Regions from separate parts of the Homo sapiens genome. Here regions 1, 2, 3 and 5 are each linked to region 4. The links are contacts of gene promoters, found by promoter capture Hi-C in blood cells and fetal thymus (Javierre and others, 2016). All regions are on one chromosome and are shown on one strand. Each heading gives the region's core, a stretch centred on a gene start or on the middle of the fragment in contact. The rest is flanking DNA. Distances are from core to core; before and after follow the strand shown.

Region 1 (5,586 bases), core at 594-3,093, 160 kb before region 4:
TTTTATGGATGAGACAACAGAGACCCAGAGAGGCAAAGCTCACACGGCCAAAGCAGTCGAGGAGAGACCTGAGCTGGGAGTTGTCCAACTCCTCTGGCCAGTTCTTACACCTTCGGTCATCCTGTCTCCAACCTGAGGATGATGCCTTTGACCTTCCAGCCGCGCATCCAGCTCTGGCCTGCCCTGTGCCTCTCTGCGGGGGGACTCTGCAAATGGGGAGAGAGACAGCGTGGCTAATGTCGAGGAGAGCTGAGGGTGGTGGGTTGTCCTGGTGCTGAGGGGCTCTTGGTTTCTGACTATGCCTTCTATCACCACCACAGGGTTTGAGTTGAGCCAGGATCCCCCACCCCCACCACCCCTCAAGGTGCAGGAAATCTCATCATTCAAAATCCATTTCCTTTATATTGTCACATTCTGGAGAAGGGCTCCAATCTAAGCTTAAAAGTGATAGAGAAAATAAAAATGGGAAAGTCAGATGGATTCGGCCACTTTGTAAGCCAGAAAAATGGCCCCAGCAGACAGGTGAGCAACAGCTTTGGAAAAATCTCTAGCAATCAAGAACGGCCATGGGGGTTTATCTTTGCTCTGTAATGATCCCAGGCAGACGGAGAGGAAAGGCAGAGAAACCTGCAGGTGAATGGGCAAAGGGCAGGAGCGATGATTCACACTAGAAAGGAAACACAAATGCTTAACCCTCACAGGGAGAAAGTCCATTCCCACTCAGATATGAAAGGAATACAAATGTTAATCAATGCAGTTCCATTCAAACTCACAAATATTTTAAAACATAAAGTTATTTAATTTACCGCTGAATAACTGTAACTATTTTTAACTGAACTCATGGTTACCCTGGTAGTCCATCCTCCCAACTGCTCCAATTCACAGATAGGAACCTAGGCTAAGAGAGGCTAATTGCATAATTTGCTCCAGGTTAGACCTCTGGTGAGTAGCTGAGCAGGGTCACCTGTTCGGTGGCAAAGTGGTGGCATCTGGCCGGGCGCGGTGGCTCATGCCTGTAATCCCAGCACTTTGGGAGGCTGAGGCAGGTGGATGACCTGAGGTCGGGAGTTCAAGACCAGCCTGACCTATATGGAGAAACCCGGTCTCTACTAAAAATACAAACTTAGCCAGGTGTGGTGGCACACGCCTGTAATCCCAGCTATTCAGGAGGCTGAGGCAGGAGAATCGCTTGAACCCGGGAGCTGGAGTTTGCAGTGAGCCGAGATTGCACCACTGCACTCCAGTCTGGGCAACAGAGCGAGACTCCATCAAAACAAACAAACAAACAAACAACAAAAAAACCCACAAACAAACCACACACACAAAAACGCAAAGGTTAGGCTTCATCCCAGCCCCCGTGGATCAGAAACTCTGGCGCTAGGGACCAGCAATCTGTTTTAAGGAGCTCTCCAGGTGAGCTGGAGGCTACAATTAGAGAATGACTGCTCTGGGCTCCAGGAGAAGGTAAGGAAAGCAGGTACGTGCTTTCGCTGCAGAAGGCAAATTGTATTGTTTCAACCTTTTTGAATTACCTATGGATAACAGGTATTGTGAGCCTGTAAACGGCCACCAATGGCACCTCTGAGAAGCCACTGAGAAGTAGACATGGTTTTATCCATGGAGGTATTTAAGACAATGTATTTATAAACATGGAATACTGGAAACAGTCTGAGTCTCCAGCAATAGGGGACTGGGGAGAGAAACCTTGGTTCATCTAAAAGATGGCTGCTGTGCAGTTTTGAAAAGTGAGTGTGTAAAGACCGCACAACGTGGTACAATAGGAGCAGACAAGTCCTCCTGGGTTGCCCAGGACTTTCCCAATTTTAGCACAAGAAGGCCGGCATTTTGGAAAACTCCTTGGTCCTGAGAAAATGGGGACAATTGGTCACCCTAGCTATAATCGGCACTAGTGCCACACCCCAAGTATTACTGTCCTCCCATGTTGCATGGCCGGTGGTAGGATGGTATTTCATCTGGCCTTGCAGTGAGGTAGCTATGTGACATGTTTTGGCCAATGCAATGTGAGCGGAAGTGGCATGTCACATCCAGACAGCGCTCCTGGCAATTCATGCCAGGATGGCACCTCCTCAGCCTAGGTCCCTGAGTGACTATGATAAGCAGAGACTCCATGCCGATCCCTACCCTGCAATCCCAGGGCATAGGGTGTGAGCAAGACATAACCTCTTGTGGTGTGTGAAGCCACTGAGATTTGGGGATATTTGTTGCCACAGTGTAACCTAACCTGTCCTGGCTGGTATACACGTGGACATCCGGATTTCATAGTTTTAAGGCTTAAGTGTTAGGCCGGGCATGGTGCCTCACACCTGCAATCTCAGTACTTTGGGAAGGCCGAGGCGTGCAGATCACTTGAGGTCAGGAGTTCGAGACCAGCCTGGGCAACATGGTGAAACCCCGCCTCTACTAAAAATACAAAAATTAGCCGGGTGTGGTGGTGCATGCCTGTAATCCCAGCTACTCGGGAGGCTGAGGCAGGAGAATCGCTTGAACCTGGGAGGAGGAGGTTGCAGTGAGCTGAGATTGTGCCACTGCACTCTAGCCTCAGGGACAGAGCGAGAATCTGTCTCCAGAAAAAAAAAAAAAATTGGCTTAAGGTTACAAAACTGCATTTGCAGTATCATTGCAGAGACATAACAGGTGTGTTGGAAATATTCTGAAATGTTTACAAAATTATCAGGTAGAGGAATTCTTGGTCTAGGTTTTTTTTTAACTTTTAGGATTGGGATACATGTGCAGGTTTGTTATATAGATAAACTGCCATGTGAGTTTGGTATACGGATAATTTTGTCACCCAGGTAATAAGCATAATACCCACCAGGTATTTTTTTCTAATCCTCTCCGTCCTCCCACTGTCCACCCTCCAGAAGGCCCCAGTGTCTGTTGTCCCTCTCCTAGTATTCATGTGTCCTCATTATTTAGCTTCCACTTATACGTGAGAACATGCGGTATTTGGTTTTCTGCTCCTGTCTATGTTCGTTTGCTTAGGATAATGGCCTCCAGCTCTAGCCGTGTTGCAACAGAGGACATGATCTCATTTGTTTTTTGGTCTAAGTTTTTCTTCCTCTTCATTGCGCTTTCCAATTTTCTGCAATGAGCATGTTTTATTAATTTTTAAATGGGGGACATTTTCTGAAAAAATCATTTCTTTGGATCAAAGGTTGGTCCCCTCTGGGCTCTTATTTATGAACTGAAAATCCCTTGGGGGAGGGAGAAAGAGAAGAGTTAAGCTTTAGCCTCAAAGGATCACAGGGACTGGAAAGGTCACAGAATTAATCCTGCCCTTCTGCTGGAGCCTTCTAGCTGGTGGCTCCTCCTGGCCTTAGCAATTGGATCAGATGCCTGTTCCTGGTCGTGTGACTCTGGGCAAGTCACAAGCTCTCTGAGCCTCCACGTCCTCATCTGTTAAATGGGAATAATCCTGTTTACCTTGTGGGCTCCTGGGAGGATCAGATGAGATGAAGTATGTTCTACAAATGCCGGCGCCTTCTGCCTCGGTCTTCTTCATGGAGCCTCCGTGCTGGGTGACTTAGGGCGTGTGCCTGAATGTCTGTGACCTTTGATTTCATCATGGAAGAACAGGCAGGGTGCTTTTTTAGGCCAGGGCATTTCTGGATGGGGCTGGAGGCCCCCGTACAGAAGCTGAGAGGGATGGAAAAGGAGAGGGCTTGTAGGCCTTGGTGTTCAGCAGCCGAACAAAAACTTTGAGCCTGGCAACCCCAGACCACGAAGCCAGCCCACCAAAAGCCAAATGGTGAAACCTCTGGAGTCTTAAAGTAGCCCCGGGGACAGGGGTGGTCAGGGAGGGCTTCCTGCAGGAGGAGAGCTGGCAGGATGGCATGGACAGCCCCCATTGCCTTCCATGGTTCTGTCCTGTTCAGAGTCCTTGAACTCAGCCCTCTCGAGGGAGACTCCATCAAGAATATAACAGTGACAGCTAATATCTGCTGACGGCGTGCAGTAGACCAGGTTTACCCAATCCAGTGTCAGTCCACACGGTGCCACTTTGGGGTAGGACTTGGGGAGACTCACCGTGGAGAAAAGTTCGCTGGGTGAATTGGTGGCTGAACCCCATCTGCTCCGGAGGAAACAGCTGTCCTTTCCTTCTCCAGGATAAAGCAGCCACGGGGCACAACTCTTCCAGTCCACAGGGCCACCCAGAATGACCCCAGTTCCTTGCTGCACCTTGTGGATATGTCTGATCTCTACCGTGACCCTATGTCTTGGGGTGCCTGGAGCAGTCCTGGTTTCTGCCTGTTGTCCTGGCGTCCCCTGGAATCCAGATTCCAGCACTCATAGGAAGGGCTATTATGGATGATGAGTTTGTGGTCGCCCTGACACAGGTTTCAGATCAGATGGCGCTGGTTCCATGCCGGCTCAGGTCCTTCTTGGCTGGGCCAGAGTGCGCCTGAGGGCCCTTCTCTGTAAAATGGGGATAGTCACGCCTGCTTAGGGAGTGCTGGAAGGTTGGAAGACAGCATGTAGTGGGAGGCGCTGGCCTTAGCGAGTGCTCCATGGTTGGCGGCTTTGGCCATGACATACTGATGCTGGGCATGGTGGGGGTGGGCCGGGGTGTCCAGGGCAAACCTGGGTCTTTGTGGGTTACTTTTGAGGGTCACGTGCTGTTAAGAACCCACACACTGGGATTGGAACCCAGGCCTGCAGGTGGACCCCAGGACCCAGGTGCCTGCCAGTACACACCACTGAGCCAAGACTAAATGGCCAAGAAAGGGGAGGGGGCGGAATCGGGCAGACAGGGGAGGGAGGGGCAAGTGGGAGAGGTGGGAGTGGGGAGAGGAGGAGGAGATAAGAGGGTGAGAGGGTGCGGAAGAGGAGGTGGGAAGGGCTTTCTGCTGAGCCCAGGACTCTTGTCTAACTCGCAGCTGAAGGTGTCCACGGGGAGGTCCTGCTGCCCCTCTGACGCAGTGTGACCTGTTCACCTCCCCTCCGCCCGACTCCTTCCCCACACCTGCCCTTCGCTGGGCTGTTTCGGGGAATGCTGTCACCTCCCACAAGTCTTAGCCCCGGAGGCCCATCAAGCCTCTTTCCTCCTGTCCAGCGACCGCTCTGTTCCTCCCTCACCTCCTCCAGCCCCCTGTGGCCCACCTAGCCTCCTTAATCCATCCCTTGAGTGGTCGATCCTAGGGGCTATCCCCAGACGGCTTCCAGCCGTCTCTCTCCTGCTTTGAACCCTTTCCTGGCTCCCCGTCACCGTCCTGGTAAAGTCACCCACGCAGGCTGGCCAGTGTGTCTCCGCTTCTGTTGCATTCCAAGTCCAGCTGTTCTAGGCAGGCCTCCTCCAGGCCCACCAAAGAATTCACCGCTTCTCAAATGTGCCAAACTCCTGTGTGGGGGCTCCGTGCTCCAGTCTCCCCAGGCCCCACAGCCCCTCTTCCCTCATCCTTACCGTCGCTCCCAACGCTGTCCCCATAGCGAGGTCACTTCATCCTCCTCCGCCGGCCCTGCCTGCAGACCAGATTCGCCCACGTTTCTCCAGAGCCCAGCGCCCGGCCTGGAACCACCACGGGAAGAGCATGTTCTCCCCAAAGAGGCCCTGTGGAGTCTGGCTTT
Region 2 (5,902 bases), core at 2,314-4,813, 130 kb after region 4:
GCAAGGCCAGAGCAGACACTTCAATGGGGCATGCCAAGGGTCATTGAGTCAAGATGGCAGAGGCTAGACATGAGTACAGGGCTGAGGAAGGGCAACCAGGCAGCCAGAAATGTCTCAGAGCCAGGGGCGTGGTGAACAAGCAGGTAACATGAGGGTGGGCACACCGAAGGACCCATACCACCCTCGGCGGCTCTGCTCTGCTCTTACAGATGCTCCTCCTGGCCCGGAGCTCCCAGCCAGCCCACAGCGGCTCTTGTCTCTAGTGGTTTCTGCCTGTCCCTGCCCATCATGCATCTCTCCTACCTAGAATGATGCACAGCTCCTTATTCCCACTTCCGGAGCTGCATGTGTAGCTCCAGTCATTGGAAAAGCAAGCACAGCCTGGTACTGAATTTCTCCCCTAATTCGCTTTCTGCAGGTTACAGGAGGGGCATTTACCTGCCACTTTGCAGAAGGTGAGAAAGGCACCTCAAGAAAAGGAATAAGCTGAAGTGAATAAAATTCATATTCACATGCTTTCTTGTTTTTATTTTCTTTTTATTTGTTTGTTTTTAGAGACAGGATCTTGCTGTGTTGCCCAGGCTAGAGTGCAGGGATGCAGTCATGGCTCACTGCAGCCTTGAACTTCTCCTGGGCTCAAGTGATCCTCCTGCTTCAGCCTCCTGAGTAGTTTGGACGACAGGTGTGCAACCACCATGCCCAGCTAATCTATGTTTTTGAAGAGACAGGGTCTTCACTTGTTGCCCAGGCTGATCTCAAATTCCTGGCCTCAAGCAATCCTCCTGCCCGGGACTCCCAAAGTGCTGTGATTACAAGCATGAGCCACCGTGCCTGTCCTTGCTTTTACTTTGAAGTCAATCAGGCAGCATAAAAAAAAAAAAAGTTCTGGAGAGGTCAGGCGCGGTGGCTCACACCTGTAATCCCAGCACTTTGGGAGGCTGAGGCAGGTGGATCACAAGGTCAAGAGATCGAGACCATCCTGGCCCACATGGTGAAACCCCGTCTCTACTGAAAATTCAAAAATTAGCTGGGCGTAGTGGCAGGTGCCTGTGGTCCCAGCTACTCGGCAGGCTGAGGCAGGAGAATCACTTGAACCCGGGAGGTGGAGGTTGCAGTGAGCTGAGATTGTGCCACCGCACTCCAGTCTGGTGATAGAGCTAGACTCCGTCTCAAAAAAAAAAAAAAAAAAGTCCCGGAGAAACATATCAAAGAGCACACAGCTAGCCAGACAAGTAAATTAGCCTTTGGTTGCCCTGTTCCTCACTTGTGTACAAAGGTGTGAACGTGCATGTGTTTGTGTGCGTGTGCATACACACCTATGTGTTTTAAGGGGTGTATGACACCTCCCCACCCAGAGAGAAGCCTGCTCCCTCTTCTGTGATCCCCTCCCCAATTCTGTCTTGTAGTGGACAAAAGCCTTGTGGTCATTCTGTCTAGGATTCAGAGCCCAGCCCCAGATCTAACCTCTCCTGTCATCTTGGGCAAGTCACTTGACTTTTTTTTTTTTTTTTTTTTTTTGAGGCAAAGTTGCCCAGGCTGGAGTGCAGTGGCGCGATCCCAGCTCACTGCAACCTCCGCCTCCTGGGTTCAAGTGATTCTCCTACCTCAGCCTCCCAAATAGCTGGGATTACAGGCACCCACCACCACGTCCAGCTAATGTTTTGTATTTTTAGTAGAGACGGGGTTTGACTATGTTGGCCAGGCTGTCACGAACTCCTGACCTCAATCACCTGACTTATGGAGGATAATAACACCTGTTTCTCGGAGTGGTTAGAGTAAATGGAGGCAAAGCACTTAGCATCCTCTCTGGCACATGGAAACAGTAAACAGGAGGGGTTATTAAGGTGCCTCTCAGCCCTGAGAGTGTACTTGTGTAATATTAAACATTCATTGGCCCCTGCAGAGACAAAGGGAAAGCTTCCCTTTCTCCTCGTGAAGGCTCGCTGAAAATCAACAGACAAAAGGAAGATTAATTGGAGAAAAGACAAAATTTATTTCAACGTGCAGAGCATGAGGGAATCACAGAAGTTACCCAATAACCCAGTGGGGTACAGGTGCATGCGCCCTTCTTCACGGGGGAAGGAGAGATGGGGGACACGTGGCAATTTGAAGGACAGTCAATGGTTTTTAGGGGGGAAATGAATGAGTCCAGCGTCCAGATGATAATTAATAATTTCTTTGGACATTGAAAGGGAAAGAGAGCAGATAATGGTTTGGGATGAAGTTTATCTGGGCTGTAGGTGTGGTGTTTAATGTTCAGTCTCATATCCTCTAGGATATGAGTTTTAACCTCTAGCTAATGATATTCCAGGGAAGGTAATTGTGTTCCCCTTTGGCAGGTCCCGTTTCTAGGCAGATAAAGAAACTTCAGAGAACAGCGTCATCCTGCACTTTGAGAGAGACAGAGGATTCAGAGAAGGAGGCAGGGAGGTCAGATAGACCTTGAGGCTGCTTCATGTCAGAGCGCCATATTTTAGGGCAATGCTTTCTGAGCCCCTAACCCCCCATCCATGTCAGTTGCTGTGCTGGTACCAGGACAAGAAACATGAATAAGATACGTTACCCCTCAAGGTTTTACAGCCCAGCCAAGGGAGGCAGGCAGGGCAGGTGCAGGACAGGAGAGCAGTAACAGTAACAATACAACATGGTGGTCGGGCACAGTGGCTCAGGCCTGTAATCCCAGCACTTTGAGAGGCCAAGGCAGGCAGAACACTTGAGGTCAGGAGTTTGAGACCAGCCTGACCAACATGGTGAAACCCCGTCTCTACTAAAAATACAAAAATCAGCCAGGTGTGGTGGTGGGCACCTGTAATCCCAGCTACTCCAGAGGCTGAGGCACAAGAATCGCTTGAAACTGGGAGGTGGAGGTTGCAGTGAGCTGAGATCTTGCCATTGCACTTCAGCCTGGGTGACAGAGCGAGACTCCATCTTAAAACAAACAACAAACAAACAAACAAGCCCGTGGATTTGGTGCTTATGAGGTCAGCTTCTGCTCTCAGTGCTATGTATGAACCAAATCACTTCATCCTCACAGCAATCCTATAAAGTGGATTATTGCCACGTCTCAGATGAGGAAATCCAGGCCCCTCTGCCCACACTCACGGCCAGGGAGTTGGAGGTCAGGGTGCTCCGGAGGCTGCCCTTTGAACCGTCCCCTGCTGCAGCTCTCCCTGGAGCAAGAGGGCACAGTCCAGGGAATTCATAAAAGGGACTATGCGTGGGTGTGGAGGTGCCTCTCAGACCCAGAACCAGCCCCCCAACCCATGGCGGTTCTCTGTGTTTCCACTTCTCAGATACTCCTCGCCACGCTGTTGCCAGGATCCATGTCTGTCCCTCCCCATGGGGCGAATGCCCCCTCTCAGGGCTGGTCTTTATCCTCCATGCCCCCAGATCCTGCCACAGGGCCTGTCCCTAGGAAGTACCCTGGAATGAATGGAGGAGACAGGCTGAGTGCTGGGTGCGGGCTGAGTGGGGGACTTGGACAAAGGCAATGGGAGTAGAGGTGGAGGTCTGACCGGCTGTAGGTAAGTGGGACAGAGTCTCAGATCACTTGCTGCCAGGTGTGGGCCTGGGTGACCCACAAGTGGTGACCGTGCACACTGAGACAGGGGACACAGGTGGAGGAGCAGGCTTGGGGCTGGGAGGCCATGACTCAGGGATCTGAGTTCAGGAGGAATCGAGTTGCGGGAGGCCCCGATTCCAGAGTCACTGGCTCAGCACAGTCGTTGAAACCATCCGAATGGCAGCATTATCTAGAGAGCGGGCCCGCCTCGAAGCAGGCCGAGGGAGACTCCAGAGAACACAGACGGGAAACCAGAAGGGCAGTCAGCTAGGATTCAGTATCGAGGACCTGAAGACCTCAACATCCTGACAGTTGAGGGGCAAGGAGCCCCTGCAGGTATCGCTGTGCAATCAAGGGATCAAACAAAGCCCCCAGAAGTTCAGGCAAGATCAGCCTACCAAGTTCCACCCCTAGTAGGTTAATAGGCAAAAAATTTAGGTGCTTAAAATAACACTTTCCGTTAACCTGAATATTTCAACATTTCATCTTCCCCCAAGTGATTCATCCTCCATGAGTTAAGGATAATAAAGCTCCATTGTGCTTATAGAGCTGAGGTTATTCCAGTAGGTGTGACACCTGACTTCATTTTGAGCCTTACCTGATGTGACATCACACCCACACTGGGCATGGCAGAACTGAGTTTGCTCCCATTTTTCAGATGAGAAGACTGAGGCCCCAACAGGAAGGCTCTGGAACGCAGACCTTCTGGGGCCTTGTGCAAAGCTGATTCCACAGCACCAGGACCAGATCGCTGCATGGATCCATATTCAGCCCACTGTGTGGATGGGGGCTTTGATCTCTGGAGGCAATGACCCAGGAAGTGGAAAACATTCCAGGGCAGCTGGTTAGGCAAGGTTGGGAAACGCATTTCCAACTGTTCCTGACACAGAGGGGGCGCCGAGCAAATATTTGCCAAGTGGATAAAAATTTCATCATTCTTGTTGCTCAGTGTTGCAAGTTCCTGCCTCGAACACACAGGTTGGGTAGGGCGGGCCCTGGCAGAGGCCAGGATCCTGCAGTCAGTGGTTAATTATTCTAAGAGTTCAGGCTTGCAGGAGGCGGGACGGAGCTGGGCGGAGGGTGCGTGTCTAGTTCATTCCTAACAAACTCCTGCAAAGTTAAACTGAAGCTCTGTAGTCCTAGAAAGGTGCGGCTAGATCGCCCACCTCTAGGCAGGTCACCTCCGAGCCTGTCCAGACCCAAGGAGGACCTTCCCAGGAGAAAAAAGCCCGGGCTGGAATCAGCCTTGGTTTCCTTGCTGCAGGTTGGACTAGGGTAGGGGAAGGGCGCCTAACCCAAACCCATTGGTTAAATTCCACTGCTCAAGGTTTCCCTGTGGAGCTGAGAAACACGTGGCCATCTTCCCTGAGCTTCTCATGCGTTTCTGTTCTCACCTTGATCCTGGAATCTGGAAAACCATGGCAGGCAAGATCCGCTGGAGAAACTCCTCCCCTGGAGAATTCTAACTCCAGTTAGGTTCCTCTAGCAAACTAGCTGTGTGCCCTGAGGCAAATCACTGAACCTCTCTGAGCTTGTTTTCCCACCTGTAAAATTAGTCTGTTGTGAAATAGATCATTTCACAGCACCCCCTTCTCTCTGGAAATGTACTCTAAAAGACTAGTTTCTCCTCCCTAGTTTGGAAGCTTTGAGAGGGCTGGGACACAATTCTATTTGTCACTCTCTCTCCTCCAATGCCGGAAGTGCAGAAGGCACTTAACATGCTGAATAAGTAAAACTCCTTTAAAACTAATGGGAAGAAACCCTTGGTGTTTACTCTGCACCAAGCAAAACAGTTTCTGTGGATTATCTCATGTAATCCTCATACTGCTCAGGAAGGTACTTCTTTTTTTGAGATACGATCTTGCTCTGTTTCCCAGGCTGGAGTGCGGTGGTGTCATCACAGCTCACTGCAGCCTTGACCTCCCAGGCTCAAGCGATCTTTGCACTTCAGCCTCCCAAGTAGCTGTGACTACAGGCACATGCCACTCTGCCCGGCTCATCTTTTTTCTTATTTTTGCCTACAGATGAGGTCTCACTATGTTGTCCAGGCTGGTCTTGAACTCCTGAGTTCAAGTGATCCTCCCACCTATGCCTCCCAAAGTGTTGAGGTTACAGGCGTGAGCCACCGTGCTGGCCAGGAAGGTACTATTTTGCCCGTTTTACAGGTGAAGAAACGGGTCTGGGCGCTGTGGCTCACGCCTGTAATCCCAACACTTTGGGAGGCCGAGGAAGGTGGATCACGAGGGCAGGAGTTTGAGACCAGCCTGGCCAACATGGTGAAACCCTGTCTCTACTAAAAATACAAAAATTAGCCGGGCGTGATGGTGAGTGCCTGTAATC
Region 3 (5,867 bases), core at 442-2,941, 180 kb after region 4:
TGTGAGGGGGTCCTATAGTGGACACTGCTGGATCTTACCCTACATGCTCTTCCTAGAAGATGCCAATTATTCCCAGACATCCATTCCTCCCCCACGAGACACGGACTTCAGAGGAGTTGGCCACACACATTTCCTCCAATCTAGTGGCGGGTTTGATTGGTCTCATGGTGATTCTTTACCCCTACCCCAACCCCACCTCTTGCACGTGATTGGTTCAGTCATGCACATATGACTCAATTTGGGCCAATAAGATGCAAGGAAACGTGTGGATGCGTGCAGCCTTCTGGGAAATTCTTTTCTCAGCTGGGAATGCTGAGAGAGCATCCATCTTTCCTGATGTAATGAATGAGGAACCATGCAGCCCAGACCACTCCTGCCAGACACCTATGACCAGAGGAATTGCAGACCATGCAGCACATTCTGGGTCCTCCATGGCCTCGCAGAGCTGCTCCATCAACTTGGCCAGAAGCTGCCGGCCTCTGGACTTCCTGTAATGTGAGCCTGAGGTCTCCTCATTGTTTAAGGAGCCAAAAGCATCCTCAGACCATAGGGGCTTGGAGCCCCAGGGAAGAGTCCCCAGATAATGGGTTCTAGGTCAGACGGTTCTGTTTTCCAGTTGATCCTGAAGCTTTTCACCTGATGAGTCTCTAAGCCCGCAGCACACTCCACCCCGAGATCACTGACTTGCACCCTCAGACCGTGCTCTACCCATGGGTTATTTATTATTTGCTGTGTTCCAAAACACCACCAAAACTTGTGGGCTTAAAATGACATGATCCTTAATTTGCTCATGATTGAGCAATTTAGGCAGGGCTCAGGAGGTACGGCTCATTTCTGTTCTGTATAGCATCTGCTGTGAAGACGCCTGCTCCTCTCCCATGCCTAGTGCCTCAGCTGGGATGAGAACCACAGTGGGGGGCTGGCTGATCATCACTCTCTCTCATGGGACCTCTCTTCGTGGCTCACTTGAGCTTCTTTTGGAATGGGGACTAGGTTTCAAGAAGGAGCCGTCTCAGGGGACAAGATTCAATGTGCAATGGTTTATCAAGCCTTGCACTGGCTTGTCAATGTCCCTGTGGCCAAAGAGACATATGGCCAAGCCCAGACTTTGTGAGAGGGGACTACATAAGAGTATTACTGTATGCAGGAATGGTTCATTGGCGACCTCAAAATAATAGTTTGTCCTGGTGGTCATCTTGCTTTTGAAAGATCAAAAGCGAGAGGAAGAATCAAAATCACTACTGGGAGAAGAGGAGACATGTTCCTACTTCTCCCTCAACTGCCCCTCCTCCCACAAAAGGGAATGACTTACTTACTTTTTTTTCTTTGTCTTTTCTTTTTTTTTTTTTTTTGAGATGGAATCTGGCTCTGTTGTCCAGGCTGGAGTGCAGTGGTGTGATCTTGGCTCACTGTAACCTCCGCCTTCTGGGTTCAAGCTATTCTCCTGCCTCAGCCTCCCGAGTAGCTGGGATTACAGGAGTGCACCACCATGACCAGCTAATTTTTGTATTTTTAGTAGAGATGAGGTTTCACCATGTTGGCCAGGCTGGTCTTGAACTCCTGAGCTCAAGTGATCCACCCGCCTCAGCCTCCCAAAGTGCTGGGATTATAGGCGTGAGCCACCACGCCCGTCCAGGAATGACTTAAAGGTAGGGTTGGATCAGAATGCAATACAGGGAAGTGAATCTGACTTGATTTAATATTCATCAAATATCTAATTATGTGCAAAGTGCAGAGTTCAGTTCAACTTCTTTACTGGGTACCTAGTTTCTGCAAGACACTGTTCTGGGCACTGGAAACACTAGACTTTGTCTTCATCAACTACTATGTGCCCATCACATGTGACACCTGAAAAAATGAGCCACCCAAAGTCTTGTGGCTAAAGCAGACTCTGTGCTGTTCTGACATAGAAATGATAACGTGGCAAATGATTATGTGCCACATGGTTTATATACGGAACTGTATTTCATCCTTACACCAGTCCTCAGAGCTGTTATCACTCCCTTTATGAAGATGAGGAAACTGAGGCTTGGAGAGGCCAAGGAAATTGTACAAGATTATATGCATAGGAAGCTGGGGGTGCAAACCCAGGAATTTCTATCCAAAGTCACTTCTACTCTACCAGGCAATCGTACTGCAGTGTACGTAGTATGACAGTGCAGTGCCTAACAGGGCTGAGTGTTTGTGGTGCCTGTTGACGGAGCACCACAAACACTCAGCCCTATTAGGCACGGTGAAAACAGCAATATGAATGCAATACAATATGCAATATGCATATGCAATATGCAATACAGTCCAGACCTCAGAGCTTTGCAGTCTGCAGGAGATTGATGTGGAAGAAGCTGCCTTAGAGACTTATCTACCCATGATATGCCCCTGCCCAGCCCTGACCAATGAGCTGGACGTGCAAAAATAAATAAGACATGGCGCCTGTCCTCAAAGAGTTCAGAGTCTGGCGAGAAGACAAATACATCAGTACATAGATGCTCAGAAGTCTTACACATGCGGTGAGACGTTCACGTGGGGCCAGCAAAAGCACAAAGGAGAACGTGGTTAGCTCTGCCTGGGATGGGGTAGGGTGCCGGTCATATGGTAGGCTTCATAGAGGAGGTGGCTCTTGAGATGAATCATGGAACATGAATAAGGATGTTCAGGTGGACTGGAAGAGGCACAGCATTCCAGACAGAGGGCATGGTATGCATGAAACTGCAGCATGATGTATTTGGCAAGCTGCAGGTAGCTTGTTAAGCTTGGAAGGTAGGGCTCCAAGGAGGAACACAGAGGTGAGGTAGGAAACAGAGAGTCTATGCCTGGACCGGGCTGTCCTCTGTGAGGGCCTTACATTTGAGACTCAGACCTTCCTTCTAGGAATTTACAGTCTGGCTGGAACATAAAGAGTTAATGACTAAAGAAGCCACACGGAAGAGTTGAAAAGATGCTCATTATCCCCAATAATCAGAGATGCAAATGAAAACAATCCATCAGGTTGGCAAGAATTAAAACGCAAGTGTAGATGAGAATGAGGGAAATGGAAACTTTCGTACCCTTGATGAATTATGAGCCAAGAGCCGTGGGTGAGTATTTAGCAAAATTGAAATTATATCATACAACCTACAATTTCCATTTCTACACAGCCTAGACAAACCCTTGAACATGTATATAGGGAGTGCGTGCAAAGATCTCCATTGCAGCATAGTTTACAATAGGAAAACAACCTGGCAAGTATTAAAAGTTCTTGTTCTCAGCTGGGTGCAGTGGCTCATGCTTGTAATCCCAGCACTTTGGGAAGCTGAGGTGGGCACATCGTTTGTGGTCAGTGGTTTGAGAATAGCCTGGCCAATGTGGTGAAACCGTGTCTCTACTAAAAATTCAAAAAAATTAGCCAGACATGGTGGCAGGTGCCTGTAGTCCCAGCTACTTGGAGGCTGAGGCAGGAGAATCACTTGAACCCAGGAGGCGGAGGTTGCAGTGAGCCAAGATCGTGCCACTGGACTCCAGCCTGGGCAACTGAGTGAGACACCATCTCAAAAAAAAAAAAAAAAAAGTAAAACAACCTAAATGCACTTTAGCTGGACAATGGACAAATGGGATGATCTATGGCAGTGGAAAGAAATGAACCACATCTGCATGTATCAGCATAGGAAGATCTCACAATACATCATTGCGGGTGAAAATGACAATCTGCAGAACGACCCCTACAGCAGGAAATGTACTGTTGATGTAGCCTTCAAAAGGGACACACAAAACCAGTCCATTGCTTATGGGTATGAGTATGGAAGGTGAATGGGAAGGATGCCACAGAAATCCAACTTCACATTACATTTAATTTAGTGCTTTTCAGAAGCAGCTTTACAAGACAGAGCTGCCAAAATGCTTTCTGATGAGATAACTAAGATGCTAGCAAGAGTGTCTGAGAAACACAGTGTTGGTGAGCTGATCTAAAGTTAAGTGAGCAATTTCAATGTTGACATAAGGGAACAAATGTCTCATGTTTTATGACTTTGTCTCAGTTAAAGATTCATCCTCAGAAAGAGGAACCCTTTTTAATTAAACATTGAATGTTCTAGAGAGAGAAAAGCTGTAATCTTGGCAAAGTAAATAAAATATGCGTAGATTTTTTTTAACTTAAAGAAGGTCTTTTATTTCACTGGCGTGGTTCCCAATAGCATTCCTTGTTCTTCATGTTCCTGAGGTCCCTAGATAGCGGAATTCACAATGATTCTTAACTTTCAAGGAGGCACAGGGGCCAGGTAGTACGTAAGCATTAATTCATATAGTGAAAAAAATTGGTCACACTTCAATTCATGCAGGGCCTCATTTGCCCATTGTGACTCAAAACCATCTTCATAATTTCTGTAATATCCGTGTACCACTCAAGGGAACACCAATAAAATCAATTTAGGTTGCTTTAACCCAGGATACAGTAGATGAGCCTGCCATGGCTATAATCCCAGTCCAGATCGCCCCCTGGTGGCAGTATGTCCAAATTGCAGGCCCAGAGATTCGGAATCATAAGCCCACAATGTACATGCTGTGGAGGGACAGAGAGACCATTTAGTTACATCTTTCTAACCGTGCTTTCCTACTCCCACTCCAGTTCTATGTTATAGATGAGGAAACTGAGGCCACATTGAACACATTTATGCTTAAATTGCAAGAGAGGAGTTTATGTTGCCTGCTTTGCAAATCCAAACTCTCAATGATGTCAGAGTGGTAGGCTGATCTTTTTCCCATTCTCCCTCCCAGAATCATGGACTCTGTAATAAACAGGAACTAGAAGGAGCCACAGCAGAGGAAAATTCAAATGCAGGTTTGCTGTAGAAAGGCAACAAGAGACTCTAGCTAGGCTCGTGTTCTTGGGAAGACCACCTCGCTTGTCAGAGCCAGTTCTCATTTCTAGAGTACTAACAGAGGGACAGTTCCACCTCTTTCAGAGGCTATTGTGAAGATTACCTGAGAAAATGCATGCCATGTATCTGGCACAGAGCCAGTTATAGACACGCAATAAACACTTATGCTTTTCCTTCCTCAAGGCCCTGTTTCCTAAATATGTTTAAAAGAACTCTGTGGCATGTTAACAGATGTTCTATGAAAAATTATCCCATTGTCAAATAAATCAGGTTATGCTGGTTTACATAACACTATACAGATTGCTTTTGGGCAAGACTTCTCAGAACTTTGAACACGCTAAAATTGATTGCGTCACTCCATATTATTATACATAGTTTTCGCTGTTCCTCACTTCGCCTGGCACAGACAGAGAAAACTATGAACATCAGTTACAACGGCTGTGATTATGACAATGATTTTATTAAAATTGCAGGTTCAGAAGCCTGGGAGGTCAGCCGAGGAAGAGGAGTCCTGTTTTGGGGGGTGGTTAGATGGACTGATGTGTTAATCCAGATGCCCATTACCAATGCTCATGGAGAAATGTGCCTGCCAAAGGCCTGGCCACTTCCTTCCTCTGGCCCACACTGCACGCATCGCACTTGGGAAGCAGATAATCAGAGAAGGGAGTAAGCCTACTCTCAGGACAAGGGGTTGAGTTTCTTTCATTGCTGGCATTGCATGAATCAGTCTGAGTGAGGGCATCTTAGCCTCCCTGTGCTGCTGGCTTCCCTGGTTTACGACAAGCAAAAGGGGTTAGGTGACCTGTCCAGGGCAGTGGCAGGAGCCAGGCTTGGGCCCCTCCTATCCAAATCCCTTTTCAAGGGGCCAGTATATATATATATATATATATATTTTTTTTTTTTTTTTTTTTTTTTTTTTTTTGAGACAGAGTCTCACTCTGTCACCCAGGCTGGAGTGCAGTGGTGCAATCTCGGCTCACTGCAAACTCTGGCTCCTGTGTTCAAGCGATTCTCCTG
Region 4 (5,669 bases), core at 2,449-4,948:
CAGCGGGGACAGTGCAGAGTCTGCCCCCGCTGCTGGCCTAGCTTGTCCATCCCTGTCTATGAGGAGCTGTTGCTCTTCTCAGCTGCTCTCCTGTTAGGTCTTGGGACCTGCACCTTCTGTGATGTCAGCTGCTAAAACACACCCCATCTCTTCTGCAAAACAGGTAGCTCATTTCACCCCCAACCTTGGCAAACACCAAACTTCCTGCAGCTGCTTTGGTTTTCTTCAGGGCCTTTCTGCTGTGTTCTGGCCTTCCTGAAAGAGTCTTATTATTCTGTCCATCCACATCCACTGTCTGTCCATCCGTCTGTCTGTTCATCCCTTCATCCATCCATCCATCCATCCATCCATCCATCCATCCATCCATTCTTCCTTCCTTCTCCCCCATCCTTCCTTCCTTCTCCCCCATCATTCCTTCTCTCCCTCCATCATTCCCTCCATGATCCCCCCATTCATCCTTCTTCTGTTCATCCATCAGTCCATTTTCCATTCACCCATTAACCACCCTTCTATCCACATCACAATGACTAAGCACCTCCTATGCTCCAGGCACATACCAGGCAGCATAAAGAAATGCAGAATGAATGGGATTCAGTTCCTGCCCTTGGGGAGCACCCACTTTAGTTGGGGAGAGAAGGAAGGCCTCTGGCAGGTACCTAACCCCATCAGAAAGCAAGGGTAAAGGCCTGGGAGGCTTCACGGAGGATGTGAACCCGGGGCCTGAAGGATGATGAGTCCGCGGGATAAGAAGGCAAAGGAAGGATGCCACATGCAGGGCAGGGAGGGGGCAAACCCTGGGAGGAGGGGGAGGCATGCAAGCGATTCTGCGTTCTGTGTGGCCAGAGGATTGGATGCAAAGGGGGATCTTCAAGAGGGGGCCCAGTTAGGGACAGCCTTGAAGCCAGACTCAGGATGCTTGGATAGGGTCTTGAGGGCAGTGGGGAGCCCCTGAAGAGTTGTGTGCAAGGATGCTCTGGATGCAGAGTGAAGGATGACATGGCAGCGTCCCGCTAACAAATATGAACCCCTCTGTAAACAGAACCCCTGTGTAAGCAAGAACCCTCTGTAAACAGAATCCCTCTGTAAACAGAACCCCTGTGTAAGCAAGAACCCCTCTGTAAACAAGAACCCCTCTGTAAACGTGTAAACAAGAACCCCTCTGTAAACAGAATCCATCTGTAAGCAAGAACCCCTCTGTAAACAGAACCCCTCTGTAAGCAAGAACCCCTCTGAAAACAGGAACCCCTCTGTAAACAGAACCCCTCTGTAAGTAAGAACCCCTCTCTGTAAGCAAGAACCCCTCTGTAAACAGAATCCATCTGTAAGCAAGAACCCCTCTGAAAACAAGAATCCTTCTGTAAACAGAACCCCTCTGTAAGCAAGAACCCCTCTGAAAACAAGAACCCTTCTGTAAACAGAACTCCTCTGTAAACAAGAACCCCTCTGTAAACAGCATCCCTCTGTAAACAAGGACCCCTCTGTAAGCGAGAACCCCTCTGTAAGCAATAACCCCTCTGTAAACAGCATCCCTCTGTAAACAGAACCCCTCTGTAAGCAAGAACCCCTCTGTAAGCAGAACCCCTATATAAGCAGTGCCCCTCTGGCACTGGGCGTGGAGGGAAGGAGATGGAGCTGGGGAAATATTAGGCTCTGGTGATAATTGTTGTTCCCCAACTGCCTTCAGCCACCTAGTCTGTGCCTTGGCTCTTGCAGCTCCCTCTGTCTTGGGCCCTTTCTCTCGACCCATTCCGGCCTATGGAACACTCATCCCCATCCTCCCAGAGAAGAGGAAGAACCCAGCCTTCCTCAGGTGCCTCCTGCATGCCAGGAACTGTGGGTGATGGCTTCTCTGTGTGCACAATCTCATGCCATCCCCATGAACCTAAGAGGTGGGGAGTAGTCGCATGTTTCAGATGCAGAAACAGGCTCAGAGAGGTAAAGGAACTTATCCAAGATCACACAGCTAGGAAGTGGCCAAGGTGGGATGGGGACCCAGCCCTCACTGCCTTTGCACAATGACCCACTGCCCACAGCACCGATGCCACATCCTCTGGAGCCTCCCCTATGGCTCCAGCCAAGCCACGTTCTATTTTTGGGTTTGTGTTTTTGTGTTTTGTCATTTGCAGGCGTTTCAAACTGGGCACGCTCTATGCCTCTCATACTCATTATGACCACATTTTCTAAAGACAAAACTGCACAGACAGCCTGAAAAAGTATTTTTTCTGTCTTGTTACTTTCTTTAATAACGTCTTAGCCAGTTTAGAATCAAATCACATGTATTTACTCTTCTCACGTGATACCAGGACTGTTCTGAAAGTTCAGGCCAAGGGTCACCACATTGACACGATTTCCTTAGTTATAATCATTTGCATACTTGTCCTACCTCCATACCAAGAGAAGGTACTCTGAGTTAGAGTTCAAATCCCACACATCCTTGTCATTCCCACAGTGCCCAGCATGCTGCTGCCAGCAGGTGCTCAGTAAATCCTTACTGAACTCATGCAAAGGGGACAGACGCCACCTCAGCCCAACACCAAGATTGTCCTCCCTCCCTCCCGCACCCCTTCCCTTCCTCCCTTGCTTCCCATCTTTCAATAAATGCAGTTTGAATGCATTTGTCACACAAAGCTTTAGGCTCAGAGAAGCTGTGGGACTCCATGCACTTCACCTGTGGCCTTGAGGCACCGCAGTCCAGCCAGGAAGACAGACACCAGGCAAATCCTCCCACCTATGCCCAGTCAATTAGGAATATGAGCACCTGATCCAGTGATGGGCAGGGCAGCATCCACTTTAGATGCACGGGGTGCTGGGAAAGCTGCCCTGAGAAAGTGACCGCAGGCTGAGGCCTGGGGCAGAGAGAACGTGGGCAGGGGCTCGAGGCAGGGAAGAGCTTGGAGACTTCCAGGAACTGCCAGACAGCCAGGGGCAGTGGGGCAAGGGAGAGAAGAAGCCAGAGAGGCCGCAGGCCTGGGCTTTCCATGGCGAGGAGGCCTGGATACTGCATAAGTGCAGCAGGAAATGTTGGGTGGGGTCGGATTTTCACTTTACAAGGGCAGTCGCTGGGGCAGAGGGCATGGGACTCAGGGAGGGACTCAGGAGGCAGAGAGATGGTGGGACGAGACTGAGGGTGCCGGCTGGGGCTGGGGGTAGAGGACTGTGAGCGCTTGGCACTTGGAGGCAGTCAGAGCTGGTCTGGGCAGGGGTGCTGTCACCCAGGGCCGAGGAAAGGGATACAGGAGGGGCAGAGGGTGGGTCGGAGGCTGTCCTGGGAACCCTAAACGTGGGGGCCAGGAGAAGGAGGTGCTCCCGTTTCTGATCTGTACCAATTAAGGGGAAGGTGAGAAATTGCTTGGGTGGAGTGTCCTTCTCTGAGTCTGGGGGTTAGGTGGGATGAGGGGACCTCGGAGGCTGGAGGCCAGAGTTCACACTCCTGCCCTGCTGTGTGACCTAAGGCTGAGAGCTGCCTCTCTCTGGGCCCAGATGCATCATTACCTATTCAGCAAGCAGCTGGGCCTGAGAGCCTCCGAGATCCCTTGCAGGTCTGCTGGTCTCGGCTGCCTTTCCTTGGTCTGCCCTCATGCTGTCTTCCCAGAAGCCAGGGGCCCAGTTTGCTTCCCCTGCTTGTCCTGTGGGCACTTGCGACTCCCGGGGAGGCAGCAGACACGGTCCAGCGTGGTCACGCTCCTGGCCGCGACTTCACCTCCCTCCTGCAGCACAAGTCTCGAGGAGGCTGGGGAGGTGCGCGCACTGCCCTCTGGTGGCAACTTCTGGGCCCACCTGTCATTGTGCCCTGCTGTTTTCTAACTCAATTATTCTTGAAGGGATGATTGAGCGCCTTTTGCATGCAAAGTCCCGAGGTAGGCATGAAGTAGTTGGGCAGTCCAGATGGGGGAGAAGGTGTCGTGGATGTGGAGCCCAGGGTGTCACTCTACGCGCTCCCGATCCCTCCCAAGGCCTAGGCGTCCTCCCTCCACCGCGGGAACGGAGCAGGGGTGGCACAGAACTCTGGTGGCTGCAATGAGGGTTCAACGGTTGAATGCGTGGAGTGCATCTTAGCTTCACTTCTGGCCCAGGAAGCGCAGGCTCCGTGTACAACACACGCAGCGGTGCAGTGCCTTCAAAGGGGGCGTGTGGCTGTGTGTGTGGATGTGCCAGTTTTGGGCTTCCTCTCGGCAGGAGGTGGGGGGGCGGGGAGGCTCTGGCGCTGAGTGCCCCCTTTCCATTGCGGTCCTTTGGTGCAGTTGAGGGTCCCCCCAGTAGCAGGGGCATTTCCAAGGAGCCAGGACTTCAAGGGCCTAAGGCTGGAGGGGCCCTGTCCAGTGCAACAGAGAGACCTTGAGCATGGGCGGTGAGGTCACCTCTCCTGGCCCAGCTATCAGCTGAGCTGGATGTGCATGGCTCAGGTTTGCACAAAGGAGGCCCACCTGTTCACAGGAGTTCTGGAAAGAACACACCTGTGGCAAAGACACACACACGTGCACACCAGACAGGCCATGATCTCGCTCCCCTGGCGAGGAATGACTTCCTTGCCGTAGGGAGAATTCAGGGGAGTCTGGCCCTCTTGAGGAGATGCTGTAGAGGGGAGTTGTGGACGGTTGGATTCAGGATGTTTTCAGCTCCAAGTGTCTGCTTTAGGCCGGTCTGCACCTGTGTCCTCCCCGCCTCTGTCCTTCTGGCACTTGCCCTGGGTAGGCCTGGCTCAAAGCCCTCTTCTCCCCTCCTCCCCCAACCCCACAAACAATAATAAAATTAAATTAAATTAAATTAAATTAAATTTTTAAAAAAAGCCCTCTTCTCCATGAAGCCTGCCCTGAAGAGGCAGCTGCCCAGGAGCATCTGCACATCTCATACAAACTTTAGCTGTGATTATATTGCATTCGTTCCCATGCCTATTTCCTGTCCCTGCAGCTAAACTCTGGGCTCCTTGAGGGCTGGGTGGAGTCTTGGGCATCTTTTGTGGCTGCTATAACTCCCAGCCCTGAGCCAGGATAATACAGACGCTTGACAAACGCTCCATGCTGACTGGCAGGTGTTCCTACCTTCCATGCCTGGGAAAATCATGATTCAGACTCTCCCTGGAGAGGCCACGGTCAGAGAAACATTAGGAAGGACAGAGTGGGTTCTGGAAGGCCAGAGGCACACGGCCAGAGCAGGCACAGATGCGGCCAGCCATAGCTCAAATTCTCATGGCTCTCTTCTTCCAAAGGTGGCGGCAGCCTGGTAGTTAGGAGCATGTGCTTAGGAGCCAGATGGCCCAGGCCCACATCCCATCTCTGACACTTATCACCTACCTGTGTGCGGCCCTGGGCGAGTTATTTAACCTCCCCGTGCCTCAGTTTTTTCATCTGCAAAATAGGATAAGAGTCCTAGTCTGCAAGTGCTGTTGTCAGGATTCACTGAGGTAACATGCGGCCTCTCAAACTTCTGTGCACACTCGAGTTGCTTGGGGACGTGGTGAAAATACAGATTCTGGCTCGGGAGGGCTGGGCTGGGGCCTGAGCATCTGCATTTCTGACCAGCTCTCAGGGAATGCTGATGCTCTTGAACCTGAAACTGCCTTCAGCATAGTCGGGAATCAACATGTGTACTTAGAATAGGGCCTGGTGCGTAGTAAGGGCTAGAGGAGTTACCTAGTACCTCCCTGGGAAGGCTATGCTTCTAGAACTTTC
Region 5 (5,823 bases), core at 29-2,528, 160 kb after region 4:
CTGTTGGCAAGAGGCCACTCTGAGTTCCTTGCCCTGTGGACCTCTCCATAGGGCATCTCACAACAGGGAAACTGGCTTCTGTCAGAGAAGATGAGCTGAGGAGAGCTGCAGAGAGTGTGTGAAAAAGACAGAAGTTGTAGTCTCTTATAAGTTCATCATGGATGCAACATCCCTCATTTTTGCCACATTCCATTCATCACTATGTCCAGTCCACACCAAAGGGGAGAGAATTATACCAAGAAACAGGGATCATTGGGAGCCATGTCAACTGCCTGCCACTCTCTGCCCTCTGGCCCCCAATAATGTACATCCCTTCCACATGCAAAATATAGTCATCCCCTCCTAAGATCTTTAAAATTCTCATCCTATTAAAGCATCAGTTTAAAAGCTAGAATCTGGTCATATAAATCAGCTCCAGGTGTGGCTGAGGCTCCTCCAGTGTCGTTCCTTAAGTACAGCTTCTCAGATTCAATTCTTCCCCATCATAGATCTGTGAAACTAAGTAATTTGCCCTGAACACACCTAACATACAGTGATGTGATAGGCATAGGATAAGAACTAGTGACATTCCTATTCAAAATTGAGGAAAATGGAGACATGGAGTCAATGTTCCATAGCGGTTTTGAAATCCAGCCACACAAATGTTGGACATTCCTTGATTAGGTTTCAAGGCCTGGGGATAATTCTCCATGGCTCTCAGCTCTGCCTTCTGGACTCTTGCATCCACTCTCTGACTTGTCTTTTTTATTTTTATTTTTTGTTCAATGGTATCTTTTCATTTTGTACTGTCTCTATCCCTTTTACCCGAAGTTGCCAACATTTTGCTGATGTTATTTTCTCAACAGTAAAACTTACAGGGGTTCACTCCATTGAACAAAAGTCACACCCCTTTTTAACTGAGGCTCCTGTTGAGGAGCCTTAAGCTTCCTAGAGGTCCTATGGTTCTGTTAAGAGGATATATCAGGCATCTCTTTAATCTCTTTAAAGCACCCTTTGTTTGACAGAGTAATACCCTCATCCTTTGATCTTTCTGAAGTTTTAACAACAGGTCGCACAGTCACACTCCTGGGCACACTTTCCAGACAGCCTTCTGAAGCTATTTCTTAATTTTAGCATCTTTTGGGATCTGGAAAGGATGAGACTTCAGAACCATTAAGTACTGGCATCTTTTTGTTTAACAGTCCCTTCTTCAATTCATCACCTTCCTCTCACATTTCACTACAAGCAGCAAGAAGAAAGTAAGAGGCAACTACCATCTTTTCTTTGGAACTCTTTAGCTAAATCATTCAGTTCATTAGTCACATAACTGCAGATGACAGTGTCACTGTTTCTGCCACTACATAACAAGGGTCTTTCTTCCACTATTTCTAGTAATATATTCCTCACTTCCATTTGGGCCCTCACTCACTGCATCTTCCAACTCCAGATTTCTGCTTAAAAAAAAAAAAAAACTGTTTAAGGTGATTTAGGCTTTTTCTATCATGCTTCTCAAAATCCTTATAGACTCTGACCACCGCTTGGTTCCAAGTTCAGTCCCAAATTTTTAAGTATTTGTTATAGCAACACCCCACTGTTAGTACCAAAATATGTATTAGCTATGTATTGCTGCGTAACAAATGACCATAAAGCTTAGAAGTTTGACACTGTATGTTTAAAACAGTACAAATTTATGATCTCAGAACTTATAGGAGTCAGGATGCTCACTTGGCTGGGTCCTCTGGCCCAGGGTATCCCACAGGCTGTAATGAAAGTGTCATCCAGGCTGTGTTCTCATATCAAGGCTCAACTGGGGAAGGATCCACTTTCAAGCTCATTCAGGTGTCAGGATTCATTCAGTTCTTCAAAGACTGTTGGACTCAGGGCTTCTATTCTTTATGAGCTTTTGGCCAGAAGTCACCCTCAGTTTCTTGCTCCATGGGCTGCTCCACAGGGCAGCTCAAAACACGGCATTTGCTGTCATCAGAATGAGCAAACCAAGGAGAACCAGGGAAAGAGAGCAAACAAAACCGAAGTCACAGGCCGGGCACGGTGGCTCACACCTGTAATCCCAGCACTTTGGGAGGCTGAGGCGGGTGGATCACTTGAGGCCAGGAGTTAGAGATCAGCCTGGCCAACATGGTGAAACCCTGTCTCTACTAAAAATACAAAAATTAGCCAGATGTGGTGGTGCACACCTGTAATCCCAGCTACTCAGGAGGCTGAGGTGGGAGAATTGCTTGAACTTGGGAGGTGGAGGTTGCAGTGAGCTGAGATTGCACTACTGTACTCCAGCCTGGGTGACAGAGTAAGACCCTGTCTCAAAAAAAAAAAAGAAAGATCACATAAGAAAACAAAACACAAGCACGAAAGCTGCAGAGGCTTTTGAATCTACCCCTCTAATTTGAATCCAAGGCCTTAGAGAGAAGACTGAGTTTACACCAGAGCAAAGTGTGGGTTCCTGCTCTTGGTTCTCCTTCGTGGTGGCTAAGCTGCTTCCCTTCCCTGAGCACGAACGACCATTCAGCAAATGGATACAATCCTATTTGCAGGAAGACAAATGGTTGCCAGGATGGGAGCCGGGGCAATGGGCTTCACAGCCAGGGGCCTGCTAGGGTCTCCTAGGGTGGTGGTGATGGGGCAGAAGAGGAGGAGGAGATGAAAGGAAAAATTATGAAGGAGTAAAATGAGCCCAGGGTTCCAAGGCTGCTTGAGATAGGTCTTTGAGGACTGGTGGGGTGGGGTGGGGGTGGCCAGGGCTTTTCAGAGAGGGCAGAGGCTGCAGAAGTCCAGGAGGCAGCCCCTGTGCCAGGGGTGATGAGTGAATGGGGCAGAGGCTCCGTGGGTCTGGGCAGTGCCAGAGGGCACCAGGGGCAGCTTAGGAACCTCTGATCAGGGGCGGGCAGACAGCCACAGGCCTTCCTGTTCAGCTCCCAGCTCATCCTTGTTCACAGAAACTCTGTGTGTTATCTGAGACGATGAAACGTGGTGCTTTGTTTACAGGACTAAGCTTGGAATTGCCTGTCCCACAGCAAGAGGCTATGGAGCTGGGCCACGGAGCAGGTAGGACAGGCAGACCAGGGATGTGCTGAATGCACATCCAGGCTTCTGGAGGGACTCCCTGGGGCAGCAGGGCACCGGCCCTTTCTCCTCCCGCTCCGTCTTGTGTTGGCCTCCAGACCCACCATCGGCCCAGGCTTCCTAGGGGGGCATTCTGTTGGAAGACAGAAGGAAAAAGGAGGGAACGGAATTACTGAGCCCTCCCATCCTGCCATGTGCAGGGATTATCACCCCGATATGGTCTCCATCCTGAGGGGGTGACTCAGGTGCTCTGAGTCTTGTGTGTACCAGAAGGGCAGGGCTGTGGGGGAACATGGTGAGGGGCCTGGCCTCAATGGATGGGAGGTATATATGGGGTTACACGTGAGCCAAGAGCAGGGGTAGTGTAGCCCAAGGAGTGGAGGGGAGTGTTCCAGGCAGGAGAAATAGCTCAGGCAAAGGCTTGGGAGGGAGAGACGGCTGGCACTTTTGTGGAGTCCCGAGAGCAGGCACTCTGCCCTGAGGACAAGAGGAAAGATTTTGATGCAGGCGTGACTGAGTCAGGCCCGCTCTGAGAATGGTCCCCAGGGGTGAGTGCAGGTTGGCTGGGGCTGGCAGGTGGGATGGGGAGAAGAGAGTCCAGTGAGTTGGGGCAGCGATCCTGCTAAAATCTTCCTCCAATGACCTGAATGCCCAGGGGCTTGTTAAACACTCAGATTCAGGGCCTTTCTGATGCAGCAGCTCTGAGAGGGTCCCAGGCATCTGTATTTTTAATGAGAGCCTAGGGAATCCTCATACATGGCCACATTTAGATAAACTCTGCGGAGGTTTATCATCCAGGGGATATGATGGTTTAGCTTGGGCTCAGAGGCCTGACGGCCAAGATGCCCAGCCCTTATGTATCTTTTAAGAGGACTTGAAGTTTTGGAGGGAAGACCACCAAACATATTTACAGCTGTAATCTGGGGTGGAGGATGAGGCCAGGCTGTGAGGAGACACTGAAGGCTGAGAGCAAGAGACCTAGAGAAGCGGAGGCTGTGGGCAGGGACGTGGGAGACAGGGAGAGGCGGGGAGGAGAGAGCCTGGGAGGTGGCTGGGATGGTGCCACTTCTCAGCCCTGGCGAAGGGAGGAGGTAGGTATTGGGGAGCAGTCTTGCATTGGAAGCAAAGTCTGGAAGTCCCATCCAACTCCAGTACTTCCCAGGCATGTGGCTTAGCCCCAGGAACGCCTCTGCCAGTGCCGCTGCTGCCAGATTCTCACTGCGGAGAGTGAGGGGGAGGTTTCAAGATGGAAAAGTGGGGAAGGGAACTATCCAAATGGAGCCAGGGACATGAAAGCACAGACAGGCCAAGTCCCTTGCTTGCGGTCACACAGCTAGGCCTCAAGGCGGGACAGGCTTAGGCGGCAGCCCTTGTTGCCCCAGGCAATGTGGACTAACCCTGCCCGTGGGAGGCACGCAGGCTGGCCTCTCTTCTCCCATTGTGTCTCCTAATTTCCCACCCATGCCTCTGGTTCCTGCGCTTCCTCTCCGTCCCTCTCCCCTTCTCTGGCTGTGGAGCTCTGGGGCTCTTTGTCTGTCCGTTTCCCCTCCTCACCCCCATCTCTGCCCCCTCCCCACCCTCTACTTTCTGCCCTTGTCTGCGTGTCTCTCTCCCTCCCCCTCTGTTTCTCTTTGTCCTGCTCAGGTACAACCACTTTCACCAGGGCCCATCTGAATGACAAGGAGGGCCAACAGGACTTGGACCCCTGGAAAGCGGCCTACAGTTCCTTGGACACCTCCAAGTTCAAGAACCAGGGTCTGTCATCCCCACAGCCCCTGCCCCTGGGAGCCAGCGCTCAAGGCAGCTCCCTAGGGCAGTGCCACTTGAAGGAGATTCCCCCTCCACCCCCGACTGCTGCCAGCAGGGATTCTCTGGGCATGGACCCACAGTCCAGGTCCCTGAAGAATGCGGGCTCTCGATCCTCCTCGAGAGAGAACAGGGCCACCTCGGGAGAGGGGGCTCAGCCATGCCAGGGGACGGATGACGGTCCCAGCTTGGGGGCTCAGGACCAGAGGAGCACGCCCACGAACCAGAAGGGCAGCATCATTCCTAACAACATTCGCCACAAGTTTGGGAGCAATGTGGTGGACCAGCTGGTCTCCGAGGAGCAGGTGTCATAGCAGGGGCCAGGAGGGTGATGCAGAGTCTTATAATGAGGACATAAGATAAACTCACTCTTGAGTACAGAGTCCCTATAATAATACCACTAGAAAGCAGTATCTCCTGAGCATCTGCTGTGTGCCAAACACTGTGCACTGTTTAAACTTCACATATAACAAGTTGTTACATCTTCCCAGCAACCCATGAGGAAGGTACTATTATTGTCCTCATTTTATAGATAAGGAGACCGAGGCTTAGAGGAGTTAAGTCAGTCAACCAAATTCACCTAACTGTGCGAGACGAGGGTGCAAACTGGGTCGGCAGATTCTGGAACTCTGATCCTTAATGACTTTGCAGTTAAAAGCCTTTTGTGTGAATTGGATGTTTTCCATGTGATCAAGTCTCCCAAAGAAGACAGCATTTAGTGGATGGATAGCATTTATTGGGAATCAGAAGACGTGCGTTTGAATCCTGGACCTGATCCTAAATGCTGGATGACTTTGGATAAGTTACTTACCCTCTCTGGGCTTCAGTCTCCACATCTGTAAAGCGAGGCAGTTGCACTAGATCAGGCTGACAAATACATGGTGAGCGTATCACAACCCTCCCAGCCTGCATTCATGGCAGACATCACTAGTCAATGCCAGCACTCTTTTCCACCCGATA

The links. The method cuts DNA at HindIII sites, captures the fragments that hold promoters and counts their contacts. A CHiCAGO score of 5 or more calls a contact.
Region 1: a contact is called between a fragment that was not itself captured here and the fragment with the promoter of IL2RB-AS1 in region 4, in 1 of 17 cell types (neutrophils). The highest score is 5.1, in neutrophils.
Region 2: a fragment that was not itself captured here is called in contact with the fragment with the promoter of IL2RB-AS1 in region 4 in 2 of 17 cell types (endothelial precursors and activated CD4 T cells); the score reaches 5.4 in endothelial precursors.
Region 3: a fragment that was not itself captured here is called in contact with the fragment with the promoter of IL2RB-AS1 in region 4 in 2 of 17 cell types (M2 macrophages and M1 macrophages); the score reaches 6.4 in M2 macrophages.
Region 5: a fragment that was not itself captured here is called in contact with the fragment with the promoter of IL2RB-AS1 in region 4 in 2 of 17 cell types (M2 macrophages and M1 macrophages); the score reaches 5.5 in M2 macrophages.

Annotation. Positions count from the first base shown.
Region 1 is chr22:37,318,881-37,324,466 of GRCh38, reverse strand. The region is part of intron 1 of LOC105373024 (a long non-coding RNA gene); the gene reads left to right. Among named protein-coding and RNA genes, the nearest start is that of CYTH4, 39 kb to the right of the region's middle. The HindIII fragment of the contact is 2,808 bases long and covers 440-3,247 here.
Region 2 is chr22:37,031,585-37,037,486 of GRCh38, reverse strand. It overlaps LOC112268295 (a long non-coding RNA gene), which reads right to left and starts at 5,438. Exons shown (of 2, transcript XR_002958751.1): 1 at 4,161-5,438; 2 at 1,974-2,928. RefSeq lists enhancers at 3,408-4,073, 4,166-4,683. The HindIII fragment of the contact is 3,288 bases long and covers 1,920-5,207 here.
Region 3 is chr22:36,985,012-36,990,878 of GRCh38, reverse strand. No RefSeq gene overlaps it. Among named protein-coding and RNA genes, the nearest start is that of CIMIP4, 20 kb to the left of the region's middle. The HindIII fragment of the contact is 2,121 bases long and covers 631-2,751 here.
Region 4 is chr22:37,164,788-37,170,456 of GRCh38, reverse strand. It overlaps IL2RB-AS1 (IL2RB and C1QTNF6 antisense RNA 1), which reads right to left and starts at 3,698. Exons shown (of 2, transcript NR_199008.1): 1 at 3,493-3,698. It also overlaps a transcript of IL2RB not described here. RefSeq lists enhancers at 2,104-2,163, 3,478-3,527. The HindIII fragment of the contact is 5,870 bases long and covers 2,631-5,669 here.
Region 5 is chr22:37,001,182-37,007,004 of GRCh38, reverse strand. CIMIP4 (ciliary microtubule inner protein 4) reads left to right here. Exons shown (of 6, transcript NM_001163857.2): 2 at 2,980-3,039; 3 at 4,702-5,168. The coding sequence starts at 3,018. Among named protein-coding and RNA genes, the nearest start is that of CIMIP4, 3.8 kb to the left of the region's middle. The HindIII fragment of the contact is 705 bases long and covers 926-1,630 here.